2 separate regions of the Homo sapiens genome follow, and region 2 is linked to region 1. The links are contacts of gene promoters, found by promoter capture Hi-C in blood cells and fetal thymus (Javierre and others, 2016). All regions are on one chromosome and are shown on one strand. The core of a region is centred on a gene start or on the middle of the fragment in contact, and the rest is flanking DNA. Distances in the headings are between cores, read along the strand shown.

Region 1 (5,952 bases), core at 3,365-5,864:
GAGACGAGGTGTATACCGTGTTAGCCAGGATGGTCTGGATCTCCTGACCTCGTGATCCGCTCGTCTCGGCCTCCCAAAGTGCTGGGATTACAGGCGTGAGCCACCGCGCCCGGCCAAGGGCTCTAGTCTTAACAGTGACCCCACACCCAAATGTCACCCAAGTCCATGCCCCTGACCCAATTATTCCCTAGGCCCAGTATGTCCCCACAGCCCGTTTTTGTTGTTGTTGTTGTTGTTGTTGTTGTTTTTGAGATAGAGTCTTGCTCTGTCGTCCAAGCTGGAATGCAGTGGTGCAATCCAGACTCACTGCACCCTCCACCTCCCAGTTCAAGTGATTCTCGTTCCTTAGCCTCCTGAGTAGCTGAAATTACAGGTGCCTGCCACCATGCCTGCCTATTTTTTGCATTTTTAGTAGAGACAGAGTTTCGGCATGTTAGCCAGGCTGGTCTCAAACTTCTGGCCTCAAGTGATACTCCTGCTGCGGCCTCCCAAAGTGCTGGGATTACATGCATGAGCCACTGTGCTGGCTTCTTACAGCCCTTTTATTGTCCTGAGTGCAGTCCCCAGCTCTTGGGTGCTCTTACTCCCTCCTGCCTGGCCTCCACTGGCTGGCTGAAGGTCCTTGGGGTCTGGCATTGGGGCGGGGGGATCCTCTGACTATTCCCTCTCACTAAGTTCCCTACCCCAGGGCCCCATTGTGCACACTGACCACAGTGATCTGGTTCTGGAGGAGGAAGGGACTCTGGAGACCAAGGTGAGTGTTGAGAGGGGTGGGGCTCCCTTCACTGTTGGGAGAGGCGGGGCTCCCTTCATTGTGTTTCCGTCTCTCTCCCACGCCTGTCCCCTCCTTTTTCCTTCTGTTGTCCTCAGAGTTGGGACTCAGCTCCCCACCCCACTCCTCCTGCCCCCTGGGCCATCTCACTCAGCTCCCAGCCTCAGTTTGCCTGTCTGCAGACTCTTCCCACACATCTGTCCCAGCCCTAGCCTCCATCTGGAGCCCCAGACCAGGGCTCACCCTGCCTGTGCTCTCCTCATCACGGTCAAGCCCCCTTTCAGCCACCAGGTCCTACACTGGCCCCACATCTCCCCAGACTGGTTCTTCCTCTGGGGTCCTACCTCAGGACAGCCACATTGACTCCAGGCCATCCCCAGGCCAGAGCACTTCTCTCTCTCTCTCTCTCCTGCGTACCTAGCACATGCCATTCTCTCTCTTCTTTTTTTTTTTTTTTTTTTTGAGACGGAGTCTCATTCTGTTGCCCAGGCTGGAGTGCAGTGGTGCAATCTCAGCTCACTGCAACCTCTGCCTCCTGGGTTCAAGCCATTCTCCTGCCTCAGGCTCCCTAATAGCTGGCTAATTTTTCTTGTATTTTTAGTAGAGATGGAGTTTCACCATGTTGGCCAGGCTGATCTGGAACTCCTGACCTCAAGTGATCCGCTCGCCCCAGCCTCCCAAAGTGCTGGGATTACAGGCGTGAGCCACTGTGCCCAGCCGACATGCCATTCTCTTGGCCTGAAACACTCCTACCTTCCTTCCCATGTCTACCTAATTCCTTCCTTTAGTCCTCCAGTCTCAGCTCAGACATTTCTTGTTCTAGGAAGCCCATGCTTCCGTCATGACAGCTCGATCATTTTGCCTGTGTTCCACCCATCACAGCCATGACCACTCTGATCTGGGCTTCCTTATCCCACCCACTATGCTGAGGGCTCTACCATCACAGCCCCTGTCATTGCCTATGCCTTTCCCAGGCACAGCCCTGACCCCTCTGGGTACTGTCTCATGATCTGTCATTTTTCCTTTGGTGTGGGATTCTGTGAGGACAGGGTCCAGTTCTATCCTAGTGACATGCCTTGTAGCAGCAACACAGGGTGTGACACTGAATCAAAGCCTAGAGGCTGTTGGGCAGGTGAGTGTCTCTCTCCTGTTCCCTCTGCACCTTCCACACCGACACCCCTCAGCAGGCCTATATCCCTCCGTCTCTACCTTTCTCTGCCTATGTCCTATCCATTTGCCTCTTATCACTGTTCCTCTGTCTCACTTTCTCTCTCTCCCAGTCCATGTGTGTCTCTGTGTCTCTGCCCACTCCTGTCTCTTTTTGTCTCTCTCAAGGTCTGGTCTATTTCAGTGTGTCTCTCCATCAGTGACCCTCATCCCCCCTGCACGCTCACAGACTTTACTGAGTCCCATTTGTCCCCTCAGGACCCAACCAACGGTTACTACAAGGTCCGAGGAGTCAGTGTGAGCCTGAGCCTTGGCGAAGCCCCTGGAGGAGGTCTCTTCCTGCCACCACCCTCCCCCCTTGGGCCCCCAGGGACCCCTACCTTCTATGACTTCAACCCACACCTGGGCATGGTCCCCCCCTGCAGACTTTACAGAGCCAGGGCAGGCTATCTCACCACACCCCACCCTCGAGCTTTCACCAGCTACATCAAACCCACATCCTTTGGGCCCCCAGATCTGGCCCCCGGGACTCCCCCCTTCCCATATGCTGCCTTCCCCACACCTAGCCACCCGCGTCTCCAGACTCACGTGTGACATCTTTCCAATGGAAGAGTCCTGGGATCTCCAACTTGCCATAATGGATTGTTCTGATTTCTGAGGAGCCAGGACAAGTTGGCGACCTTACTCCTCCAAAACTGAACACAAGGGGAGGGAAAGATCATTACATTTGTCAGGAGCATTTGTATACAGTCAGCTCAGCCAAAGGAGATGCCCCAAGTGGGAGCAACATGGCCACCCAATATGCCCACCTATTCCCCGGTGTAAAAGAGATTCAAGATGGCAGGTAGGCCCTTTGAGGAGAGATGGGGACAGGGCAGTGGGTGTTGGGAGTTTGGGGCCGGGATGGAAGTTGTTTCTAGCCACTGAAAGAAGATATTTCAAGATGACCATCTGCATTGAGAGGAAAGGTAGCATAGGATAGATGAAGATGAAGAGCATACCAGGCCCCACCCTGGCTCTCCCTGAGGGGAACTTTGCTCGGCCAATGGAAATGCAGCCAAGATGGCCATATACTCCCTAGGAACCCAAGATGGCCACCATCTTGATTTTACTTTCCTTAAAGACTCAGAAAGACTTGGACCCAAGGAGTGGGGATACAGTGAGAATTACCACTGTTGGGGCAAAATATTGGGATAAAAATATTTATGTTTAATAATAAAAAAAAGTCAAAGAGGCAAGTGTGTCTTAGGGAGTCTACTGGCATTATCACTCTCCACCAAGGAAGGGGTCCCTTAGACCTGTCCCAAGGTCCCTCCTCTACCCTAGCCTATGAGGTGGCTGTAGGAGTAAAACTGTGAGCCACCTCTCAGCCTCTTGCTACCTGCAAAGCACTCTAGGCTCTTTTTTTTTTTTTCTTGAGACAAGATCTGGCTCTATGGCCCACATTGGAGTGCAGTGGCATGATCTCAGCCCACTGCTACCTCTGCATCCTGGGCTCAAGCCATCCTTCCACCTCAGCCTCCCAAGTAGCTGGGACTACAGGTGCATGCCACCACACCCAGCTAATTTTTGTATTTGTTTGTAGACAGGGTTTCACCATGTTGGCCAGGCTGGTCTCAAACTCCTGACCTCAAGTGATCCGCCCACCTAGGCCTCCCAATGTGCTGGGATTACAGGCATGAGCCACTGTGCCCAGCCATGGGCTCTTTTAATATACATCTTCACACACACACACACACACACACACACGCACACACACACATGAGTTGCAAACAGAAAAGACACACACATAGGCATGTATGCACAGACACACGCATAGATGTCCACACAGTTGCACACAAGTGACAGGGCTGCCCCAGGGGTCCTGGGGAAGACTGAATTCTAACTCTCATTAGAGGAGACAAACAAGTGAGCCCTGAAGTGGAGCAGGGAAGGGGAGACTATGGGTAGGAAAATGGCAATCCCCTGGTCCTTACAGCAAGCGTGGAGATCCAGACCCTAATCCTGAGGTGCTGCATCCACAGTGGGCATGGTGCTGGTGCCTGCTTGGATGATCCTTAAAGAAAGGTCCTGGGGGCTTTGGTTCATGGATCCTTGAGCTAGGAGTTAAAGGTCCAGGCCCCTGGGACCCTTGGGAAGCAGAGCAAGAAGAGTGAACTCCTGGGTCTGAAGGAGAATGGGCTGGGGGCTTGGTCTCTGGTCCTGAGAGAGAAGGTGCCCAGACTTCTGGATCTGAAAGAGGAAGGGACTAGGTCTCAACTGCTGCCTTCTTGACTGGGGACATTTTGGAGGCCTGTATTCCTGAGCCCTCAACAGAGGAATGTACTAGGGGATGGGGGTCTCTGATGCTTGCATCCTTGGAAAAGGACAAAACTGTGAGTGTCTGGGTCTAAAGAGGGTGAGAGTCCTGCGGGAGGACTCAAAATCCACAACGGGCGGAGCCCATAGCCGGACTCCTGGCTGGGCCCTTCATGGGGCGGGACGCCTGGAATCTCGAGGGGCGGGGGCCTGGCGCAGGCTCCCGCCCGGGGTTCCCGAGCTGCTCCACTCTGCGCGAAGCCGCCACGCTATTGTCCTGACCAGGAAGGCGGGGCCGGCGCGGGGCGGGGCTGGCGGCGCCGGCGCAGCCCGGGGGCGGCGGGAGGAGGAGGTGGCGGCGGTGGCGCTGGGAGCTCCTGTCACCGCTGGGGCCGGGCCGGGCGGGAGTGCAGGGGACGTGAGGGCGCAAGGGCCGGGACATGGGGCCCGCCAGCCCCGCTGCTCGCGGTCTAAGTCGCCGCCCGGGCCAGCCGCCGCTGCCGCTGCTGCTGCCACTATTGCTGCTGCTTCTGCGCGCGCAGCCCGCCATCGGGAGCCTGGCCGGTGGGAGCCCCGGCGCGGCCGAGGTGAGGCCGGGCCGGGTCCTGGGGGATGGGGGAAGGGGCGGGACCGGGTCTCTGGACGCCGGCGCGGACATGTCCAGGGCAGAAAGCGCGGTCTTTCCAGCCAGGTGGTCAGCCCCCAGGCGCCCCCAATCACATTTATGAACCCAGGGTTCCAGGCCCCAGCTCCCCCATCATGCGACGTCCCAGCCCCCTCCCATCTCGAGCATAGGAACTGGTCTATTCAGAGCCCCTGGTCCCAGAAGTCCAGCCCCCTCTCCAGACCCAGGTGACTCGGCCCCAACCCCCTCCCGCCTGGACATAGGACCCACCAAGCAGCGAGGCATTTAGATCCAATAATCCAGACCCCTTGTATTCTCTGGACCCATATGGAGGCCCTTGCAGCCTCCCAGGACCCAGGAGTCCAGTCCTTCAGTCACCACCCACCCCAACCAGATGTAGCTCTCCAGTCCTCAAGGACCTGGTGTCCAGGACTGTAGGCCCCTGAAGCCAGGCCTTGTCAGCTTTGCATCCTGCAACGGGAGCCTGAGCAAGGGATGGAGGGAGGAGGGGCCAGAACTCCTGGGTTCTGGCCTCCTCCTCCGCGATTCAGGTTTAACCCCTTCGGGCTCCAGAGCGGCTGCGCTGGGGTGGGGGCGGAGTCTGTCTCCGCGGCAACAAGGCAGAAAGAATCCCGGGGGACCCAGGTCGCCATAGCAACGGGAGCGCTGGGGCGCCCCCGCCCTACGGGAGCTGTTTCCCAGGGAACGGTGCCTCCATGGAGGCGGTGTGCGGTGCTTGGGGGAGGGGGCTGGTGCTGGGGGTCTCGGTCCTAGGGAGCAAAGAACCAGGGGACCCTCATGCCAACGCCCCCCGAGCCCTCACTGTCCTTTCCACTTCCATCCAGGCCCCGGGGTCGGCCCAGGTGGCTGGACTATGCGGGCGCCTAACCCTTCACCGGGACCTGCGCACCGGCCGCTGGGAACCAGACCCACAGCGCTCTCGACGCTGTCTCCGGGACCCGCAGCGCGTGCTGGAGTACTGCAGACAGGTGGGCGGGGCCGAACGGGAGAGGCGGGGCCGCCCATAGAAAGCTAGACTTGAAAAAGGCGTGGTCCAGGGTGCTGCGCGATCTAAGGCGTGGAGGCTGGG
Region 2 (6,189 bases), core at 577-3,076, 240 kb after region 1:
CAGTCCTCCCACACTGCCCACAGAGCTGCCACAGACCAGTGTGAGGTGCTTACCCAGTGGGGCCCATTTGTGCCCCAGGGAGGAGCCAGACCCTCTTACCTGCCCCCTGCCAGTGCCTGAGAACTCACTGGGGCTGCTGTGATCACCATGTGCCTACCTTGCCCAGCAGTCCACGCTTTGCCATATCATGGCTCAGGGCCTCTGGGCCAAGGCCACACTAGATCCCACAAAGTCCACGGTGGTGGTGTCCCCATCTGCAACAGGGGAAACTGAGGACCCATGAACAGGCTTGCCCAAGCTGGGTATGGTGGCCTGCACCTATAATCCCGGCTACTCAGGAGGCTGAGGTGGGAGGATCGCTTGAGGCCAGGAGTTTGAGACCAGCCTGGGCAACTTGGTGAAACCCCATCTCTTTATTTCATGTATTTATTTATTTATTTTTGTTTTTGAGATGGAATCTTGCTGTGTCATCCAGGCTAGAGTGCAGTGGTGCGATCTTGGCTCACTGCAACCTCCGCCTCCCGGGTTCAAGCGATTCTCCTGCCTCAGCCTCCCGAGTAGCTGGGATTACAGGCACCCACCACCATACTCAGCTGATTTTTGTATTTTTAGTAGAGACGGGGTTTTGCCATGTTGGCCAGGCTGGTCTCAAACTCCTGACCTTGGGAGATCCGCCCACCTCGGCCTCCCAAAGTGCTGGGATTACAGGCATGAGCCACCGCACCTGGCCAAAACCCCGTCTCTTTAAATAAAACAAAATAAAACAAGAAACCCAGGCAGGCTTGCCCACTGTATGATCCTGGCAGCAGGCCCAGGCCACGAGCAGCTGGGACCAATAACTGCTTCCCCTTCAGAAGTTCTACATTCCACGAGCTCCCAGCACTGCTACCAGCTCCCCCAGACAGCAGGCATCTGGCCACATGGGGTGTCTGCTAAAAAAGCCACTCTTGGCTGGGGTGTGGTGGTGCACACCTGTAGTCCCAGCTACTCAGGAGGTTGAGGCAGGAGAATCGCTCAAACCCAGGAGGCAGAGGTTTCAGTGAGCTGAGATCACACCATCATTGTACTTCAGCCTGGGTGACACAGCAAGTCTCAAAAAAAAAAAAAAAAAAAATCCTGCCAGTTCCCACCCAGGTGCCGGGCACTGTAGCAGAAGGAACATCAGGCAACGCACCTGCCCTCATGGCCACTCACCTTCTATACAGTCAAACAGATGCAGGAATTAGAGCTCTGTATAATTCTAGATAGGTTGGGGAGATCCATTGCTGGTGAAGGGTCAGGGAAGGCCTTTCGAGGTGACATTTGGGCTGAAGCTTGATAGAGGACATCTCAGGAACACATCCAGGCCGACAGCACAGCCAGTGCACAGGCCTGGGGCAGCCACACGTGATCTGTGTGGAAGCAAGAGGAGCGAAGCCCGGACGGCTGGAATGGAGTGAGCAAGGGGAGGGCAGGAGCTGAGGTGCAAGGAGGAGCAGGGCCTTGTTGCTTCATAACATTTAAGTCCAAGGAATATCCAGAACAGTTTTTTGTTTTTGGGTTTGTTTCTAAATCTCTGCTCTTAATGTTTGGGGGATATCCAGTGTTGCTTATTTCTCACGACTCTGCCTCAGGGAGTCCAGGTGGTCCAGAACTTGAACCACCTGCCTAGGCCTAGGCCCATCTGCCTAGTTCGGCCACCATTGCCCAAAACCTTGCCCAACATCCCTGGGCAAAGCTTGGTGTTCAGCCCCCCAGGCCTCGGACACCCAGGAGACCACCTTGGGCCTCTGTCATGCATGGAATTACCCTTCCTTCCAACCTGTATCATAGTAAAGTCTTCTGCTCCAAGGAGTAAACACCTGGCTTTCAGGGCCCAAGATGGAGGGACGTTGGTTACCCTTGATGTCATCATGCACCTGGCCTCTTCCTCTCCTGCTCTGTTATCCTCTGTGAGCAAGCTTCAGTCTCCAGCTTATGGCCTCATGGTTGCAACACGGCTGCTGTGGCACCCAGCAGCACACCCTCAGGTGGTGTCTCCATTTTGCAATTGTTGGCTTTCCTGCAGCCCTGACTGAAGTGCCTGGCATAAGCCTGGAAGCGCAGGAGCTAGAAGCTGCCCCGATAGTACTGCTATGGGGAGGCTGAGGTTAGATGTGGAGTGCAGGGGGCTCACAGAGGGTGACAGCAGGAGAGGAAGAGGCCAGGTGCACAATGACATGAGGGTCAGAGGCCCAAGTTATTGGTCCCAGCTGCTGGGTGGCCTGGTCCAACCAGGAGCAAAGGCACAGAGCAGGGCACCCTCTAGGGCAGCAGAAAAGATGCAGATCTCTCCCAGGGGTCTCCCTGGGAGACTCATCTGGGGTCAGATGAGTCCCAGGCAACAGGAATGGAGATTGCTTTGATGTGCTTGGACCATCTCTCCTGTCCTGGGCATGTTGCAGCTCAAACAAAGAGGTTCTCTCAATAAGAAAGGCAAGTGGGCTGGTAATCAGAGAGGATCCAGCATGTCTGCCACTTCCCTCTTCCAAATGCCAGGCTCTGTCCTGGAAGGACCATACTTTCTCCATACTTCTTAACCAGGATAAACCACCTGGTTAAGAAGCCACTGCTGGTGGTGCAGCATGTGTGCATGTGGTTTGTGAGCTGACAGGGTCCCAGCAGAAAGATGACAGCATGCTTAGATGGGATATTCCAAAGAGTTTAACCAAGGGATCATTTGCAAAGGAGCAGCAGGGACTGGGAAACCACCGAGGCTGGTGCAGAACCCCAGGACTGGCACCCTGGGAGCTGTTACCACCCCCAGGCCACAAGGCACAAAGAGAAGGAACAAGAACCCAAAAGAGCAAATCCCAGGGAGAGGGTAGTGCTGAGGGAGCTGCAGCCCTGACTCCCACACAGGACGGAGTGAGAATCAACACCCTGACCTTACTCCCCTCCTGCAGGGCACCCCATTGTCCAAATCCTACTGGAAGCCAGAGTGCATAGAAGCCCAGGTGACCCCGCCTCCAGTCAACCTCCTAGGCCATGGAGCAGGGCAGAACAGGACTGAGAGGGTTCCTGGGGAACTGGGTCCCTGGAAGGAAAACAGTTCATCTTTCACTGCAACTCCCCCCCTGCTTCTACCCCCACATCTACCCTTGGCCTCCCCATAGCAGTACCATCAGGACAGCTCCTGGGTCCTGAGCTGCCAGGCCCGTGCCAGGCATCCCAGTCAGGGCTGCAGGAAAGCCAACAATTGCAAAATGGAGACACCACCTGAAACCCCATTTTGCAGATGACCCACCTGAGGCCTGGATGTTTGCCCAGAGGAGGGATTCCTCGGCAGGATGCAGTGGCTCATTCCTGTAATCCCAACACTTTGGGAGGCCAAGGCAGGCAGACGGTTTGAGCTCAGGAGTTCAAAACCAGCCCTAGGCAACATAGCAAGACTCCACCTCTACAAAAAATTTTAAAATTAGCTAGGTGTGGTGGTGCACGCCTGTAGTCCCAGCTACTTGGGAGGTTGATGTGGGAGGATCACTTGAGCCCAGGAGCTTGAGGCTACAGTGAGCTGTGTTCACTCCACTGCACTCCAGCCTAGGTGACAAAGCAAGGCCCTGTCTCAAAAAAAAAAAAAAAAAAAAACCTTCCTAACCAATCCCTGCTTATATGTCTGCCACATGCCAGGCCCCATGCTAAGCATTCTCTCCATGTGAGCTACATGGATCTTCAATACAAACTGGGAAGAGGGAGATTCCTTAGTCTCATTTTCCAGGTGAAGAAACCGAGGCCCAATGAGAAATGACTTGCTCTGGGTCCTGCAGAGAGCAAGCGGAAATGCATGGCCAGCAGACCCTCAGCACTGCCACCCTTGCTTCCCCAAATGAATTGGCACAACTGACTCTCGGGCAATGTAAAGAAATGAAGAAATACTCCTCTCACCAGCAAGCCTTGTACAGATGTCCCCCTCTGACTAGAACACCCTCCCCTTTCATCTGAAACCTTTCAGCGCTTATCCAGGAAGCCATCCCTGTACCCGTAGCCTGGATCAGGAGCCTGTTCGGGTCCCCAGGTACCCCTCTTTTCCCCATCATGGCTGGGTCTCTGCCTCACTTGCCTCTCACTGTCTTGGTCATTCTGGGCTGTCACTGGTGTGCCTCCTTCATGGACTTACGCGATCATTTTCAGTAAGCTAGGTCTGGAGCTTAGAAAATTGTTTAGTTGCCAGGCGCAATGGCTCACGCCTGTAATCCCAGCACTTTGGGAGGTTGAGGCAGGTGGATCACTCGAGGTCAGGAGTTTGAGACCAGCCTGCCCAACATGGTGAAACCCTATCTCTACTAAAAATACAAAAATTAGCCGGGTGTGGTGGTGCGCACCTGTAGTCCCAGCTACTTGGGGGACTGAGGCAGCAGAATCGCTTGAACCCAGGAGACGGAGGCTGCAGTGTGTGGAGATCGTACCACTGCACTCCAGCCTGGGCAACAGAGTGAGAATCTGTCTCAAAAAACAAAACAAAACAAAACAAAAAAAATAAAAACAGGTTGGGCGCGGTGGCTCACGCCTGTAATCCCAGCACTTTGGGAGGCTGAGCCGGGCGGATCACCTGCATTTAGGAGTTTGAGACCAGCCTGGCCAACATGGTGAAACCCCATCTCTACAAAAAACACAAAAAATCAGCTGGGTGCAGTGGTGTGCCCCTGTAATCCCAGCTACTTGGAAGGCTGAGGCAGGAGACTCACTTGAACCCAGGAGGCGGAGGTCATAGAGGAGCCAAGATCACGCCATTGCACTCCAGCCTGGGCAACGAGCAAAACTCCGCCTCAAAAAAAAAAAATTAAAAAACAGAGCTTGGATTGCTTCTTAGTCTTCTGGCTAAGAATCAAGTGTAAAACAGCTTGGCCAGTGTGCCGGGGTAGGGTCCTGGGAGCCCCTGGCTGTGTCAAGAGACCCCCTTTGGGCCAGGTGCGGTGGCTCATGCCTGTAATCCCAGCACTTTGGGAGGCCAAGGCAGGCGGATCACTTGACGTCAGGAGTTCAAGACTAGCCTGGCCAACATGGTGAAACTCTGTCTCTACCAAAAATACAAAAATTAGCCCGGTGTGGTGGTGCATGCCTGTAGTCCCAGCTACTCAGGAGGCTGAGGCAGGAGAATCGTTTGAACCCGGGAGGTGGAGGTTCCAGTGAGCCAAGATGGTGCCACTGCACTCCAGCCTGGGCAACAAGAGTGAAACTCCGTCTCAAAAAAAGAAAAAAAAATAGGAGACCCCCTTTTACTTTCCAGACTGTGGGAGGGAGGAAGAGTGTTGTCCCAGGCAGTAACTAGGGGCTAGATTATTAACAAACTAGTATTTTAGTGCCTGCTACACCTGAACAGTGCTTCTGGCTGAATGTTAGCCCTGGGAATCTGAAGATCAGAGAGGTGGGGCATCCTACCTGAGGATGCACAGCCTGGATCCTCATTTTGCCCTGATTTATCCAGATCTGCTGTCCTCCCTGCACCCTACAGAGCAGGGCAATCACAGCAGGGGGCCCCTTCAGTGTCCTCAGACAGCTGCTGTGATTTGAATAACCAGGCAGGCTGCTGGATGTCCCCTGGTGACTGATTTGCCTGGCAAACAGACCCTCAACCCCTGGGAGACAGTCCCCCTGGGGCCTTGTTTCTTCTTCCTATCCTCAAAAGCTCCCCAGGCCCATCTCCCCTTGCCTGGCTCTGCTTGGTGGTCCTAGTGCTTGTCCACCCCTGGAGGCTGGATGGTTCCCTCCAAAACCTGGGAGAAGATGGGCAGGTCCCCAGGCAGGGGTAACCTGAGCCAGCTTAGTCCACTCCCAGGGCCAGCCAGGAAATTTGCATGAAGAGAATGAGGTTCCTCAGAGGCTTCCCCTCCTTTCCCACCAGGGATAGTCATCCTGGGGCTGAGGTCTGACAGCAGGTGGAAGCAGCCCCTGTGTGTGGAGAGCCTTCCGGAGGGCATGCCCCGCGCCTTCCTGGTCAGGAGTCGGCGTCCACAGCCCCCCAACTGGGGCCATCTGCCTGACCAGCTCCGGGGAGATGCCTATATCCCAGGTGGGCCCCTCACTGTGCCTGGAGGTAAGGGGCAGGAGAGACGCAGTGTCACCATCTGGCTTTTCTCCTCAGACTGCAGCAGCCTGGGGGGGCCACCGGCACAACAGTCGTCCAGTGTCAGGGATCCGTGGACAGCGGTGAGTGTGTAACTGGCTAGCAAA

Evidence for each region. The method cuts DNA at HindIII sites, captures the fragments that hold promoters and counts their contacts. A CHiCAGO score of 5 or more calls a contact.
Region 2: a fragment that was not itself captured here is called in contact with the fragment with the promoter of APLP1 in region 1 in 1 of 17 cell types (naive CD8 T cells); the score reaches 5.2 in naive CD8 T cells.

What each region holds. Positions count from the first base shown.
Region 1 is chr19:35,863,960-35,869,911 of GRCh38, forward strand. APLP1 (amyloid beta precursor like protein 1) reads left to right here and starts at 4,615. Exons shown (of 17, transcript NM_001024807.3): 1 at 4,615-4,824; 2 at 5,708-5,851. The coding sequence starts at 4,678. It overlaps LOC107985317 (a long non-coding RNA gene), which reads right to left and starts at 5,398. Exons shown (of 4, transcript XR_001753932.2): 1 at 5,133-5,398; 2 at 3,916-4,171; 3 at 2,528-2,634. KIRREL2 (kirre like nephrin family adhesion molecule 2) reads left to right here. Exons shown (of 15, transcript NM_199180.4): 14 at 689-754; 15 at 2,198-3,177. The coding sequence ends at 2,533. RefSeq lists silencers at 4,436-4,695, 4,786-4,855. The HindIII fragment of the contact is 13,044 bases long and covers 1-5,952 here.
Region 2 is chr19:36,105,269-36,111,457 of GRCh38, forward strand. OVOL3 (ovo like zinc finger 3) reads left to right here and starts at 5,875. Exons shown (of 4, transcript NM_001302757.2): 1 at 5,875-6,028; 2 at 6,101-6,165. The coding sequence starts at 5,935. It also overlaps a transcript of WDR62 not described here. RefSeq lists enhancers at 5,474-6,104, 6,105-6,189. The HindIII fragment of the contact is 223 bases long and covers 1,716-1,938 here.